Linked DNA regions of Homo sapiens: all the other regions are linked to region 3. The links are contacts of gene promoters, found by promoter capture Hi-C in blood cells and fetal thymus (Javierre and others, 2016). All regions are on one chromosome and are shown on one strand. The core of a region is centred on a gene start or on the middle of the fragment in contact, and the rest is flanking DNA. Distances in the headings are between cores, read along the strand shown. Region 1 has its middle 7.7 kb from the start of TLR4. Region 2 overlaps RC3H2 (ring finger and CCCH-type domains 2). Region 3 holds the start of CDK5RAP2 (CDK5 regulatory subunit associated protein 2). Region 4 overlaps TLR4 (toll like receptor 4).

Region 1 (3,254 bases), core at 503-3,002, 2.9 Mb before region 3:
GCAACTAGTACAGAGAAGGAAACTAAAGCTTATAAAGTTAAGTGATTATTTGAAGTCACACAGCTAGGAAGTGATGGAGCAAGTACCAGAAGCCAAGATTTCCAATCTAATGCAGAGTCCATGAATTTCAGTTATTATTCCATGCCATGTCATTGAGAATATTAGTTTATGGAAGCATTCACTGGACATTTAGTCTGAGCTCTAGAGGAGCTAAAGGAAAAAGATATGGTTGCTTTGGCATAAATCAAAAGGGCAGAGTCAAAATTGAAGCATATTTATGTTTAGTACTCTCAACATACTTTTATGTTACCCTGAATGCAATTCCTTCCCATAATGTCACATCTAACCTTTTATTTTTTATCTTTATCTCTGTATCTTCCTTCTCACTAGAGCTCCAACCTTCTAATACCAAGGCACTAGGAGGGTTTTTTCTTTTTCTTTTTTTAAAATTTAAATGTTGACTCAAAGAAAGAGAGGAGGCAGGTACTCATACAGCATAAAATACAAAAATTTTGGTGGAAGAGTTTCACCTTCAGTAAGCACCCCATCTTTTAGTTTACTTTAATTTTTCTGCTCACCTGGTGGTCATTCTACCAAGGCAGCCTCTTAACATCATCCACTACTCCTTAGAATTTGTAGATTCTTTGTCTTTCTACCCATTAACAACACCAAGCCAAGCAGAGAATAACTAACAACTCATGTTGAAGTTTGTGGCTAATAGAATGCCTATACTTCAGAAGGAAAAGAAGAGTTAAGGATCAAAAGTCTGTCGGGGTGGGAGACAGCAAGTAAGGAGCAGAGTCTGAGAGGAACACAATTCTGTAGCAGAAGAAGTAGCTCACATGAGGTCTCTCACAAAAGCTAAGGATAAAGCTGAGGACATCCCGAGGATCAATGAAAAAAAAGTTAATTTTATTAGGGATGTTGCTGTGAATCCTGCACCATTCTTTGGACTATGTATAGATTGGAATATATCTTTTGAACCTCAAGGAAATTGCACACTAGATACTTTTCTGTGCTCCATGTGTATTTGCCCAACTTGCATATTTGTCCATCATTTCCCAGTCCGATTACTTCCAGATTCATAGACTTCTCCAGAATGGAAGGTAGAAGAAAAGAAGAGTAATTGTAGAATAAACCAGCTACTTGACAAGTAATGTAAGTTACTCATGCCCTGACCCCATTCCTTCCAAAAACACATGTCATACACCTCTGGGTTACGCAAGCATGTGCTGTCCACAGTGATGTGTTATAAGGTGACTTGCAAGTCTAGCCTAGGATTGTGTCAGATACCAGCTCAAAGTATTTCATCACAGGTTGTCTTCTAGAAAAAGACAGAATAAATTCCTTTTAGATTTTTCCTTCTTTTTCTCAGTGGAAGTTGCTAAAAAGAGGAGAAATGTGATTGACCAGTCATCAAAAAAAATGGCTGATTACATATAATCTACTAATTCCTGCATTCATTTAATGTTAATTGAGCACTTATCATGTACTGATAACAAACAAACACTAGCTACAACTCTGAATGTAACAGATCCAATCTGTCCTCACTTGGATCTTATTAGCCTGTATATGAAATAAGACCCAAGTCAATTGAGACTATTACCAGGAGTTATCTTCACAATCACTGATACAACTAACATGCATTAAACTTCTCCTAGGTATTACTGGGCACTGTGATAGGCATAGGGTGTACAGAGATGCACTAGATTTGGCTTCTGTCATAAGGGGGCTAAAAGCCTAGTGGGAAAGAAAGATAATCCCTCTTGAACATGAGAGATGGTTGCTGTGGGAGGACTGAAGAAAAGGTGACAAATGCCTACTTGGAGACGTTGGGCATGTATCACTAAGATGCAAAGTCTTAACAATGTCCTACAATGCCCTAAGTAATCTACCTGGCAACGTGTGCCTCTCTACACTGGTTGGTTCTAGCACTTCCTGTCTCTGGATCTTTGGACTGGCTTATCCTTCTAACTCAGGGCTTCTCAACCTTGGCACTACTGATATTTTAGGCTGGGGGACTGTCCTGGATCTAGCACATAGTGAGATGTTTAGCAGCATCCCTGGCCTCTACTCAGTGGATACCAGCAGCAACACCTCCAACCCCCAAGTTACGACAAACACAAATGTCTCAAGAGATTGCAACATGCCCCCTGGGGCAAAATCATTTCCAGTTGAGAACTACTATTCTAACTGGGGTGTTTCTCTCCAAAGTATCTGCATAGCCAGGGACTCCTTCCAGAATTGGCTCAAAATATCACTTTCTCAAAAAGACCCACACTGATTGTCCTATATTTGATAGCACAATAGGATGACTAAAGTCAATAATAGCTCAATTGTACATGTTGAAATAATTTGAGTGTAACTAGATTGTTTGTAACTCAGACAATAGGACTTGAGGGGATAGATACCCCATTGTTCATGATGTGTTTATTTCACATTGAATGCCTGTATCAAACATCTCATATACCCCATAAGTATATACACCTACTATGAACCCACATAAATAAAGAGATAAATAAATAAATAGAGAGAAAATAAATACATAAATAAATAAAACTCCAATACCACACACCACTCTTCATTCCCCTCACTCTCTTAAATTTTTGTCTATAGATCCTAACATCTTCGGACCTACTATATAATGCACTTATTTATAATTATTATCATCTCTCTACTAATTAGAATATACATTCAACTTGAGTGAGAGGGACTGCTTTCTTCACTGTTGTAGTCTTCTGCCCAGAACAGTGCCTGGCAAAATGTTAACCATCCATACATATTTGGTGTATAAATAAATGAATGAATTATGGTCAACATTTGTGTAAAGTTGTAACATTTACAAATACATCCACACACAAGATCTCATTTACCCCTCAGATAATATTATTAATTAGGCCATAGTGTTATTTTTGTTGTATGGTTTAAGGAAACTCAATGATGTTAAAAATTAGTGACACCCACAAAAAATGATGATGCCAGAAAGTAAAAAGGATAATGAAATATTTTAAAGTATAGCCTTCAGATTTGGTTTGGCTGTGCCCCAACCCAAATCTCATCTTGAATTGTAGTTGCCATAATCGCCACGTATATCGTGGGAGGGACCTGGTGGGAGGTAATTGAATCATGGGGGCAGTTACCCCCATGCTGCTGTTCTCATTATTGTGAGTGAGTTCTCATGAGATCTGATGGTTTTATAAGTGCCAGGCATTTCCTCTGCTTGCACCTCTCCTTCCTGCTACCATGTGAAGAAG
Region 2 (3,049 bases), core at 69-2,568, 2.3 Mb after region 3:
TTTAACAAGTATAACTAATATTAGTGATGACGAGAAAAATACTTTCTTTGAGATAGAACTTACTTCTGCCTATCAAATCATAGCCAATGGATAACTTCATCCTTCATATTACCAAAGTCCTTAGCTCTTTAATTATTCTGATTGTAACAGGATAATCTATCTGGAAGTTTTGGGTTTTTATACATCTACTTTTATTCCACTAACATATTTCTTGGAAGAGTAATGCTGATCTACAACAGTAATATCCGATAGAAATATGTGAGCCATTATAATCCGAGTAATTTTTAATTTTCTGGTAGTCACATTAAAAAAGGTTAAAAGAGGCTAGGCGTGGTGGCTCACGCCTGTAATCCCAGCACTTTGGGAGGCGGAGGCGGGAGGTGGGTGGATCACTTGAGGTCATGAGTTCCAGACCAGCCTGGTCAACATGGCAAAACCCCATCTCTACTAAAAATACAAAAATTAGCCTGGTGTAGTGGTGCCTTCCTGTAATCCCAACTACTCAGGAGTCTGAGGCATGAGAATTGCTTGAACCTGGAAGCAGAGGTTGCAGTGAACCCGAATGGTGCCACTGCACTCCAGCATGGGTGATAGAGAGAGACTGTCTCAAAAAAAAAAAAAAAAAAGTTAAAATAGCTAAAATTATTTTTAGTAATATATTTTATTTATCCCAGTTTATACAAAATATCATTTCAACATGTTGTCAATATTAAAATTACTGAGATATTAAAAAAAATCTTGGTACTAAGTCTTTGAAATCTGGTATTTTACACCTAAAGCACATCTCAATTCACAGAAGCCACATTTCAAATCTTCAACTGTCACATGTGGCCACTGGCTAGTACTGGACAGTGCAACTCTAGAATATTTAAATTATAAAGTAATACTTAGAACTTTTATCAGGAAATTGAGGTAAAACTCACACTTACACTTAAAGCTTTAGTAAAATTAGAGACGCTGATCATAACATTCATGAGACTGGATGCAAAACATGAACTTATTTTTAATTTTCAGCTAGCTTTATTTTACCCATGCTTCCTTTTTCCATCACTAAAAAGTGAAACTTCAACACGGTACAAACTAAACAGTAAGTAGTTACTAAAACCTTGTTATGAAGTTTTTTTTAGCGTTCTTAGCTATTGCAAACAATGTAGAAGTTCAACTTTTGAATATAAAATCCTGAGTGTAAAGAAGAATGCTTTGCCAAAATGCAAATTTTTGGTTTTTTCAAAGTGGAAGACAGCAAATTACAAAAGCAGAGTATGATTTAACAAAAATATATGAACAAAGGACGTAAGTCTTCTTACATGTCAGGTTACCACAACAGAAATAACAGATCAGGGGTAACTCAAAGGATCCACTAATGAACACGAGTGTAATTAAATCCTCATAGAACAAGTGCCTGTTTGAATTATAACATCTGCTTTTTCTAAACGTAACTAGAATATGTTTCACATTCTGTCCTCCTAGCAATTTTCCAAACTCTAAAATTTTGAAAACATTAATCTCCAAATCAACGAAAATGTCAATATTGAAAAGCAGTCTTTAACAGGATGTAACGACCTCTATTTCTTCAAAAATTGAACGTGGAAGTAAACAACGTAAGAAAGGCATGTGAAGCTACAACAGTGGTATAGCTTTTTAGACAGCTAAAAGGTTTTTTAAAAAGGAGAATCTATTAATATTCTTAATATCGTAAAAAGCTTTTAACTAAGTTTGTATGTTTAACCATTAAAAGGCTGCACTGGCTAACATTTGTTTCTTTGCTTTTGAGTGACTTTATACCACTGTGGTATAGCAACGTTAGCTTTCTCAGGTTAACCAAAAGTTCCTACTGGAACTTAAAAGTTTGGCCAATACAAAATTGGAAAAAAGATTACTTAAAGCACTTTATTTGGGATACAAACTCACCCACCCACAATGGGTAGGGGGAGAGTAGAAATGAAAAAAAGGAAGGCCGTGGGTAAGGGGAGAGGAGGAATTAAAAAGGGAACCCAAGGGTTATGAAAATATAAATAAATCACTGGATTAGATTTACTTTATGCCAGTGATTACTTGAGTCAATTTTGGTGTGAAGGATTTATCTGCCGGTATCTTAAACGGCTGCCTTGGGATTTGAAGGATGGAAATGACAGCTACCCTCATCTTCTCCCATCCTGAAAGCTAAGGATAGAAAAAAGTACAGCTGCTTCTCTGGGAAACAAAGATGCTTTCTACCATTCTTCTAAGATGGTGGAAGAGTCTCCTCAAGAGGCTACACCAAAAAGGAAAAATGAGAGAGGGAAAGAAGAAAGCCATAGCAGAATTTCCTGGCTGTGTTTCATGCCATTGCTCCTAGCCACAACCCCTGTGCAACCACTCAGGTCCGGCCGTCCCCATCCTGGGAGGTTAAGCCCTCCCAGGGCATTGTTTGGCCGGGGTTCCTATTTACCACTCAGATCGCCTCCACCACCCTCTACGCTAGGGTCTCGGGAAGCCCCAGGGCAGAAAGCTGAAAAGCTAGGAGAAGACTTGGTTTCGAGGACCTCTTCCAAACCCCCTTACTAACTGGTGTAGAAAAGGGAGAGTGAAGCCGGGCCTTTGCTTGGGTGGGTTCGTTAGGGGTCAGAGGCGTCCGCTCGGCCAGTGTCGAAGGAAGGTGGCCATTTGAGCCGGTCGCTCCGCATCGAAAAAGCCCTACCAGAGAGAGGGGCCTCCGCAGGGCCCGGGTTCCATCCGAGTGTCAGGTGCGGCCCTCAGTTCCCAACCCTCGAGGCACCAGGGGCGACAGCGCACAGGCCCCAGGGCTGAGACTGGTCTCCCGCCCGACCGCCGGGGACCAGGCACCCGGGCTGGGGCCCGAGCCGCATCGTGCCCGCCCCCGCCCTACCTGAGGGGGCCCGGGCGGGGTCGCTAAGGGCCGCTCCCGGGAGCCCCGCGACGGCGCGGCTTGGCGACGGAGGCGCCTCGTCTCGCCGGGGCAGAGCTCGGCGGAGGTTTCACGACCTCAAACTCCATCGGGAGCTACAGGGACAGCCCCGTTGGCGGCGGCGAAGGCCGCGACGGGGCC
Region 3 (3,022 bases), core at 289-2,788:
TGAACACAGCTCACTGCAGCATCAACCTTCCGGGCTCATGCAATCCTCCTGCCTCAGCCTCCCGAGCGGCTGGGACTACAAGTGCATGCCACCACGCCTGGCTAATCTTTGTAGTTTTTGTAGAGATAGGATTTCACCATGTTGCCCAGGCTGATCTCACACTCCTGAGCTCAAGAAATCGGCCCACCTCGGCCTCCCCAAGGGCTAGGATTACACAGGTGAGCCACCGCACCTGGCTCTTTTCACTCTTAAGTGTCCCAGTTAGCACAATAAATAACATGGTCACCCTTTCAATTAGGATCTGTTGACTAAAAGCAGCAGCTTGTCCATAGTAGAGCTGGATAAACAGTGCAGGTTCTCCGTCAGGGCTCTCCTCCTCTTCCCTCTACTCACTCTCCAACCAGGAGTCTAGGACAACCACAGGGGCCAGCCGTGGAGCAGAGTTGCGCTCTGTTAGGCCTTCCTACCAGACCCCAGCTCCACCAGCAATGGGGACTCCCACAGTCTCTTGGGGCAGGTCCATGGGAGGCCACTCTTGGCCATTATTCCCTGATTCATATCACCTTTGATGACAGTAGTAATAATGACACTAATGGCAACACAAGATCATTTTTTAAGCACTGATTATGTGGCAGGCACTACACCTGCCAAGCAAATGGCTCGACAGGCATCACCTCTTTTAATCCTCACCCCAACTCTGTTGGGTGGATATTACTAGCCCATTTTACAGATGGGAAAGCCGGTGAAATCACTTTACCAAGGTCACACAGCTAGTCAGTTTACAGGGCTGGATTTGAATCCAGTTTTGTCCAACTCTAGCCAAGGTTCTTAATCATTGCACTCCATTGCCTCCTGGGTGGCCACTATGTGACCCAAAAAGCAAAGTCTGGGCATACCGGCTACACTCTCTCCATAATGAAAACAAACTCTCAAACCAGAAGGAACCATCAGGTGCCCTCAAGGTCCCTGTTCTCCACCAATCCCCACTAACGGGATACTCCAAGTGGCCCCACCCTCGTCCTACTCTTTCAGAAAACTCCTTACCTGTTCTTCACACGCTCTACAAAGTACATGGCGCAATGCTACTGGCAATTGTGGTGCAGGTCGCGGCTCCCAGCCCTCCAGAGTGTCAGGTGGTGGGCCCCCCAGAGACCCTCTCCGAAGGAACCCACCCCACACACTGCCCCTGGCCAGACACCCTCAAGAGCAAACCCCAAGGCCGCGTTAGAACGAAATCCCACCAGCTGGAACCCCGGCCCGGTTACCACGACCACCAATGCCCCGGCCGCACCTGCAGCCGCTGAGCGTCCCAGGGACGGTGACGTCCTCTTCCAACACCAAGTCCATCATGGCTACAGAGGTGGCGACAGCGTTGGTGTCTGTGGCGGCGGCGCCACTAGTACCCCCCGCGATAGCGACCCGCCGGGCTCCCCAGGTCCCCGCCCCCTCCACCCCAGCTCTTGTTCAGACTCTGGCGGCGCCGCTGGAATTCAAACCACAGACGCCGCCATCTTTCCCGGCGCTTCTTCCTACGGAAACGAGGCGGGGTCACGGAGGCGCACGCAGTGAAGCCGACCGGCTGGCGCCAGAGGACGGGCAGGGAAGCGGGGATAGGTGCCATCTTAACTAAGGGCAAAGCATCCGTGCTTAAGCCAAGCAAAAATAAGAGACAAAAAAAGGCCGGCTGCCATTTTTTGTGAGGGCACTTAGGGAGAGGCGAGGGCGGGTGCCATCTTTGTTGAGGGCCAAAGCGGGCCCTAGTCCGTTAATTTACGCGGGAGATGGAAATGAATACAGCCACTCAGGAATCCTCAAAGTTCCTAACCTCGTGTTTGCTTTTCTAGAATAATGACCCCAAAACTTTGGGATTTGACCTTAAGTTGAAACTCAGATAACTGAGTGCTGCCTTGCTTTGGAAAAATACTACGTGCGGAATCTCAAGGCAAACAGTAATTTGCAGACTTAGTTTGAAGCAAATAACTCATTCCCATGAGCCAGTGGTCAACAGCACTCCCACTCCAGTCTCTCACCTATTGGTCTTTTATTACCATTAGGACTCAAAGGCACCTGTGGTCAGAAAACTGAGGGCCAGCAAGAGGAAAGGACTCTCCCAAAGTAATTAAGTATTGACAATGTCTTTCAACTGGAGTGGGGGTCTGCAGCTCCTGCCAACTAGATGAGGGCTCTCTGCATAACCCTGGCTGCCTTTCTTTTTTTTTTTTTTTGAAATGGTGCCTCTGTCGCCAGGCTGGAGTGCAGTGGCCCGATCTCAGCTCACTGCAACCTTCACCTTCTGGGTTTAAGCGATTCTTCTGCCTCGGCCTTGCGCCACCACACCCGGGTAATTTTTGTATGTTTAGTAGAGACGGGGTTTCACCATGTTGGCCAGGATGGTCTCAATCTCCTGACCTCGTGATCTGCCCACCCCGGCCTTCCAAACTGCTGGGATTACAGGCGTGAGCCACAGCACCGGCCCCTTGGCTGCCTTTCTTAAAGCACATAGCAATCACCAAACACTTAGATAATCTTGGCAGAGCTTAAGCAATGAAATTAACCTTCCCCTCCTCAACTCAGTGTTGCTCCTTCCTCTGCAGGCCCTTGTGAGAGAGCCCGATGAAAATAACTTGAAATGGTTGGTGAGTGGATAGATAGTGACTTTCCCAGTAATCTTGAACAATTCCCCTTTCACCCTGTTTCCTCATTCTTTTTTTTTTTTTTTTAAATAGAGACAGGGTCTCACTATGTTGCCCAGGCTGGTCTTGAACTCCTGGCCTCAAGCAATCCTCCCACCTTGGCCTCCCAAAGTGCTGGGGTTATAGGCCTGAGCCACTGCACCAGGCCCTCATTCTTCAGTTAAGTAATTAACCAATTATTGATACTTTTCAAAAGAAGCCTTCCCTAGTCATTTAATCTAAATCAAGCCACTTCTTGTATTCCTAGCAATGCAAATTATTCCTTTGTGGCACTTACCATATTTTGCAATTTGTGTGTGTGTGTGTGTGTGTAAAATCATTTTTTAAAT
Region 4 (3,354 bases), core at 241-2,740, 2.9 Mb before region 3:
AGCCTAAAAAAAGGGGGAATCCTGTTATTTATGACAACATGAATAAACCCGGAGGCCATTATGCTATGTAAAATGAGCAAGTAACAGAAAGACAAATACTGCCTGATTTCATTTATATGAGGTTCTAAAATAGTCAAACTCATAGAAGCAGAGAATAGAACAGTGGTTCCTAGGGAAAAGGAGGAAGGGAGAAATGAGGAAATAGGGAGTTGTCTAATTGGTATAAAATTATAGTATGCAAGATGAATTAGCTCTAAAGATCAGCTGTATAGCAGAGTTCGTATAATGAACAATACTGTATTATGCACTTAACATTTTGTTAAGAGGGTACCTCTCATGTTAAGTGTTCTTACCATATACATATACACAAGGAAGCTTTTGGAGGTGATGGATATATTTATTACCTTGATTGTGGTGATGGTTTGACAGGTATGTGACTATGTCTAAACTCATCAAATTGTATACATTAAATATATGCAGTTTTATAATATCAATTATGTCTGAATGAAGCTATAAAAAAGAAAAGACAACAAAATTCAGTTGTCAAAACTGGAAATATGACCACAGTCAGAAGTGTTTGTTACTGAGTGTTTCAGAGTGTGTTTGGTTTGAGCAGGTCTAGGGTGATTGAACATCCCTGGGTGTGTTTCCATGTCTCATGTACTAGTGAAAGTAGATGTGTGCATTTGTGCACATATCCCTATGTATCCCTATCAGGGCTGTGTGTATTTGAAAGTGTGTGTGTCCGCATGATCATATCTGTATAGAAGAGAGTGTGATTATATTTCTTGAAGAATACATCCATTTGAAATGGATGTCTATGGCTGTTTGAGATGAGTTCTCTACTCTTGTGCTTGTACAGTAGTCTCCCCTTATCCCTTATGCTTGGTGGATACGTTCTTAGACCCCAAGTGGATCTCTGAGACCGCAGATGGTACCAAACCTCATATATGCAATATTTTTTCCTATACATAAATACCTAAGATAAAGTTCATCTTCTGAATTAGGCACAGTAAGAGATTAACAATAACTAACAATAAAATTGAATAGTTATAATAATATATTGTAATAAAAGTTATGTGAATGTGATCTCTTTCTTTCTCTCTCTCAAAATATCTTACTGTACTGTACTCACCTATTTTCAGACCATAACTGACCATGAAACCTGGGAAAGTGAAACTGTGGATAAGTGAGGAACTAACATACATACATGATTGTTTATCTACAGATGTATGCCTCAGTTTCTTAGTATGCTTGAAAATGTATGATTTTGTGTATATCCGTGCTACATGTAAGTGTGGTTCTATTCATATTTGAATATGAATTCTGCATAAGTGTGTTTATTCAAGCAAATGTACAAGGCTCTGAGAAGGAAGATCAACATACAACTTGGAATATTTCAAGGCCGAAATATTCAAGGCTGACATTGGCCTCCTTCCTATCAGTTCCCTCTCCCAGATGGAAATTCTAGAAATGGCAGGTGAGGTGGACAAGCAGGGAAAGAAATTATATGCATAGAACAGAAGGAGAAGAAAGAGTAAAGTCAGGCCTCAGCCAGCCTCTTTTTAGCTCTTTAAATCCTCTGGATTTAAGAGGGATAAAGGGTGGAATAAGGATAAATTAATGCCAATTGTAATGCCTTAAATTTGTGTGATACCTTACAACTTGAAACATATTCACAAAACTATATATTTGAATATCTCATTAGCTGAGTAAGGTAGCAAATCATAATTAACTTTTTCCATTTTATTGATGGGAAAGCTGAAGTTCAATGAAGTAAATTTTTCAATAGCCCACAGAGTAGGAAAGTGACAAAACCTGAGCCTGGGCCTCCAGGTCACTCAAGGACACTTTCTTTCTTCCACACCCAATTGCTTCATGCTTAAAGTTGGCAAAACAGGAAGTGAAACTCCTGCAGTTTTCTGTGTGGTTGACACTAGCAAGGGTTTCTCAGTTGAAGCCATGAATCATTAAGCCAATACATATGCATATATGTTATACATACCAAATGATTTATTTATAACCCTATCTTTCCATAAAGGACTTGAAGGAGCTTCAAACAAAGGATATGTGAACAATAGGGTTAATCAATAATAAGTAGAAAATCTGGACATAGAATAAAAAGAGGAGAGAAAGACACCGAGAATGAGCGTTAATACAGTGCTTTCCATTTTTCTGGTGTTTTGAGTAGCGTGGCTTTTGGAGAAAGCCAAAACTCAAATTCACTCCTTATCAACTGTGTGCCTTGGGCTCCATTTCTCTGAGAGTCTACTTAGCTCCAATGTAAAATAAGAATAGAACTATGACTTTGTAAGGTTGCTCTAAGGATTGAAAATCATGTATTATGTTCAATACGGGGACACTGTCCTTATGGGTGAGTACTCCCCTAAGACTTTATTAAGAGGGCACTAGGAGAAGCACTGGGAGGTCTTCTCAGTAACAACACTAAAGTAATTGCTATTTTTCCAGCCTGTGGAACCACAGAAGTGACTGTAACTAAAATTAGACATTTCTTTCTGATTCATTCTCTACTCACGGGATTGTCAGACCCCAGTCTTCTTCTGGACTCTATAAACTTTTTAGAAATCATCAGCAGGCTCCTGGAGAAGCTTAAATGAACTCACACAATATGTGACAGTGAACTCCCTGGGAGAGTGAAAACCAAAGTCTAAGCCAGTGTCTCCATTTACTTGTGTGATTGTGGGCAAGTCATTCAAGTGCTTTGAGGCTCAGGTCTTAATTCATGAAATGGAGGTAATAATACCTTGTTGGCAGACCTCACTTGGTTAAAATGATAATGTTGATAGTTACAATAGTTACATTTAATTGATCAATTGTTTTATGCAAGGGCTTTATTTGTGCTATCTCAGTTTGTCACATCAATGAATTAGAAAGATACGAAAGTATTTCCAATTTACAAATGAGGAGTCTGAGTCTGGGAGTCATTCTGTCATGTGTCCACTGTCACCTGCTCATTGGTGGCAGCACTGAGATTAGGATCTAAGTCCACTTCACCGCAGAAGCAGGGCTTCTAAATACTGTTCTATGGCAAGAGCACCCTGCTCTCACAAAATGCATAAAACTTCCTATCTCACCATTATAATTTTGACTGATATTAAACAAAGAGAAGTATTATTATTATTACTTGTTTTTATTTATATTACAGCTGTAAGAGCCAGGAAAAATGTGATCTAAGTTATGTGATCAAAGATTTTTTAACAGTGAACAAATCAGGCCCACTAGATGATGGCCTTTCTTTGAACAACATGCCTAGGGTTGCTCTATCATGTCTACAGTTGGTCTGACTTCCTGACGGGCATCACAGACTTGTGATTAAACACAGAGGTTATGGGG

The links. Contacts are between HindIII fragments. The CHiCAGO score rates a contact against its expected background, and 5 or more counts as called.
Region 1: a contact is called between a fragment that was not itself captured here and the fragment with the promoter of CDK5RAP2 in region 3, in 2 of 17 cell types (M0 macrophages and M2 macrophages). The highest score is 6.1, in M0 macrophages.
Region 2: a contact is called between a fragment that was not itself captured here and the fragment with the promoter of CDK5RAP2 in region 3, in 2 of 17 cell types (fetal thymus and total CD4 T cells). The highest score is 5.8, in fetal thymus.
Region 4: a contact is called between a fragment that was not itself captured here and the fragment with the promoter of CDK5RAP2 in region 3, in 3 of 17 cell types (M1 macrophages, M0 macrophages and total B cells). The highest score is 9.8, in M1 macrophages.

What each region holds. Positions count from the first base shown.
Region 1 is chr9:117,695,109-117,698,362 of GRCh38, forward strand. No RefSeq gene overlaps it. Among named protein-coding and RNA genes, the nearest start is that of TLR4, 7.7 kb to the right of the region's middle. The HindIII fragment of the contact is 3,453 bases long and covers 27-3,254 here.
Region 2 is chr9:122,902,241-122,905,289 of GRCh38, forward strand. It overlaps RC3H2 (ring finger and CCCH-type domains 2), which reads right to left. Exons shown (of 21, transcript NM_001100588.3): 1 at 2,870-3,049. Among named protein-coding and RNA genes, the nearest start is that of RC3H2, 1.6 kb to the right of the region's middle. RefSeq lists a silencer at 2,574-3,049. The HindIII fragment of the contact is 766 bases long and covers 936-1,701 here.
Region 3 is chr9:120,578,629-120,581,650 of GRCh38, forward strand. It overlaps CDK5RAP2 (CDK5 regulatory subunit associated protein 2), which reads right to left and starts at 1,539. Exons shown (of 38, transcript NM_018249.6): 1 at 1,292-1,539. The coding sequence starts at 1,350. RefSeq lists enhancers at 1,211-1,773, 1,627-1,756. The HindIII fragment of the contact is 6,111 bases long and covers 1-3,022 here.
Region 4 is chr9:117,716,378-117,719,731 of GRCh38, forward strand. TLR4 (toll like receptor 4) reads left to right here. Exons shown (of 3, transcript NM_138554.5): 3 at 1-3,354. Among named protein-coding and RNA genes, the nearest start is that of TLR4, 14 kb to the left of the region's middle. The HindIII fragment of the contact is 2,234 bases long and covers 374-2,607 here.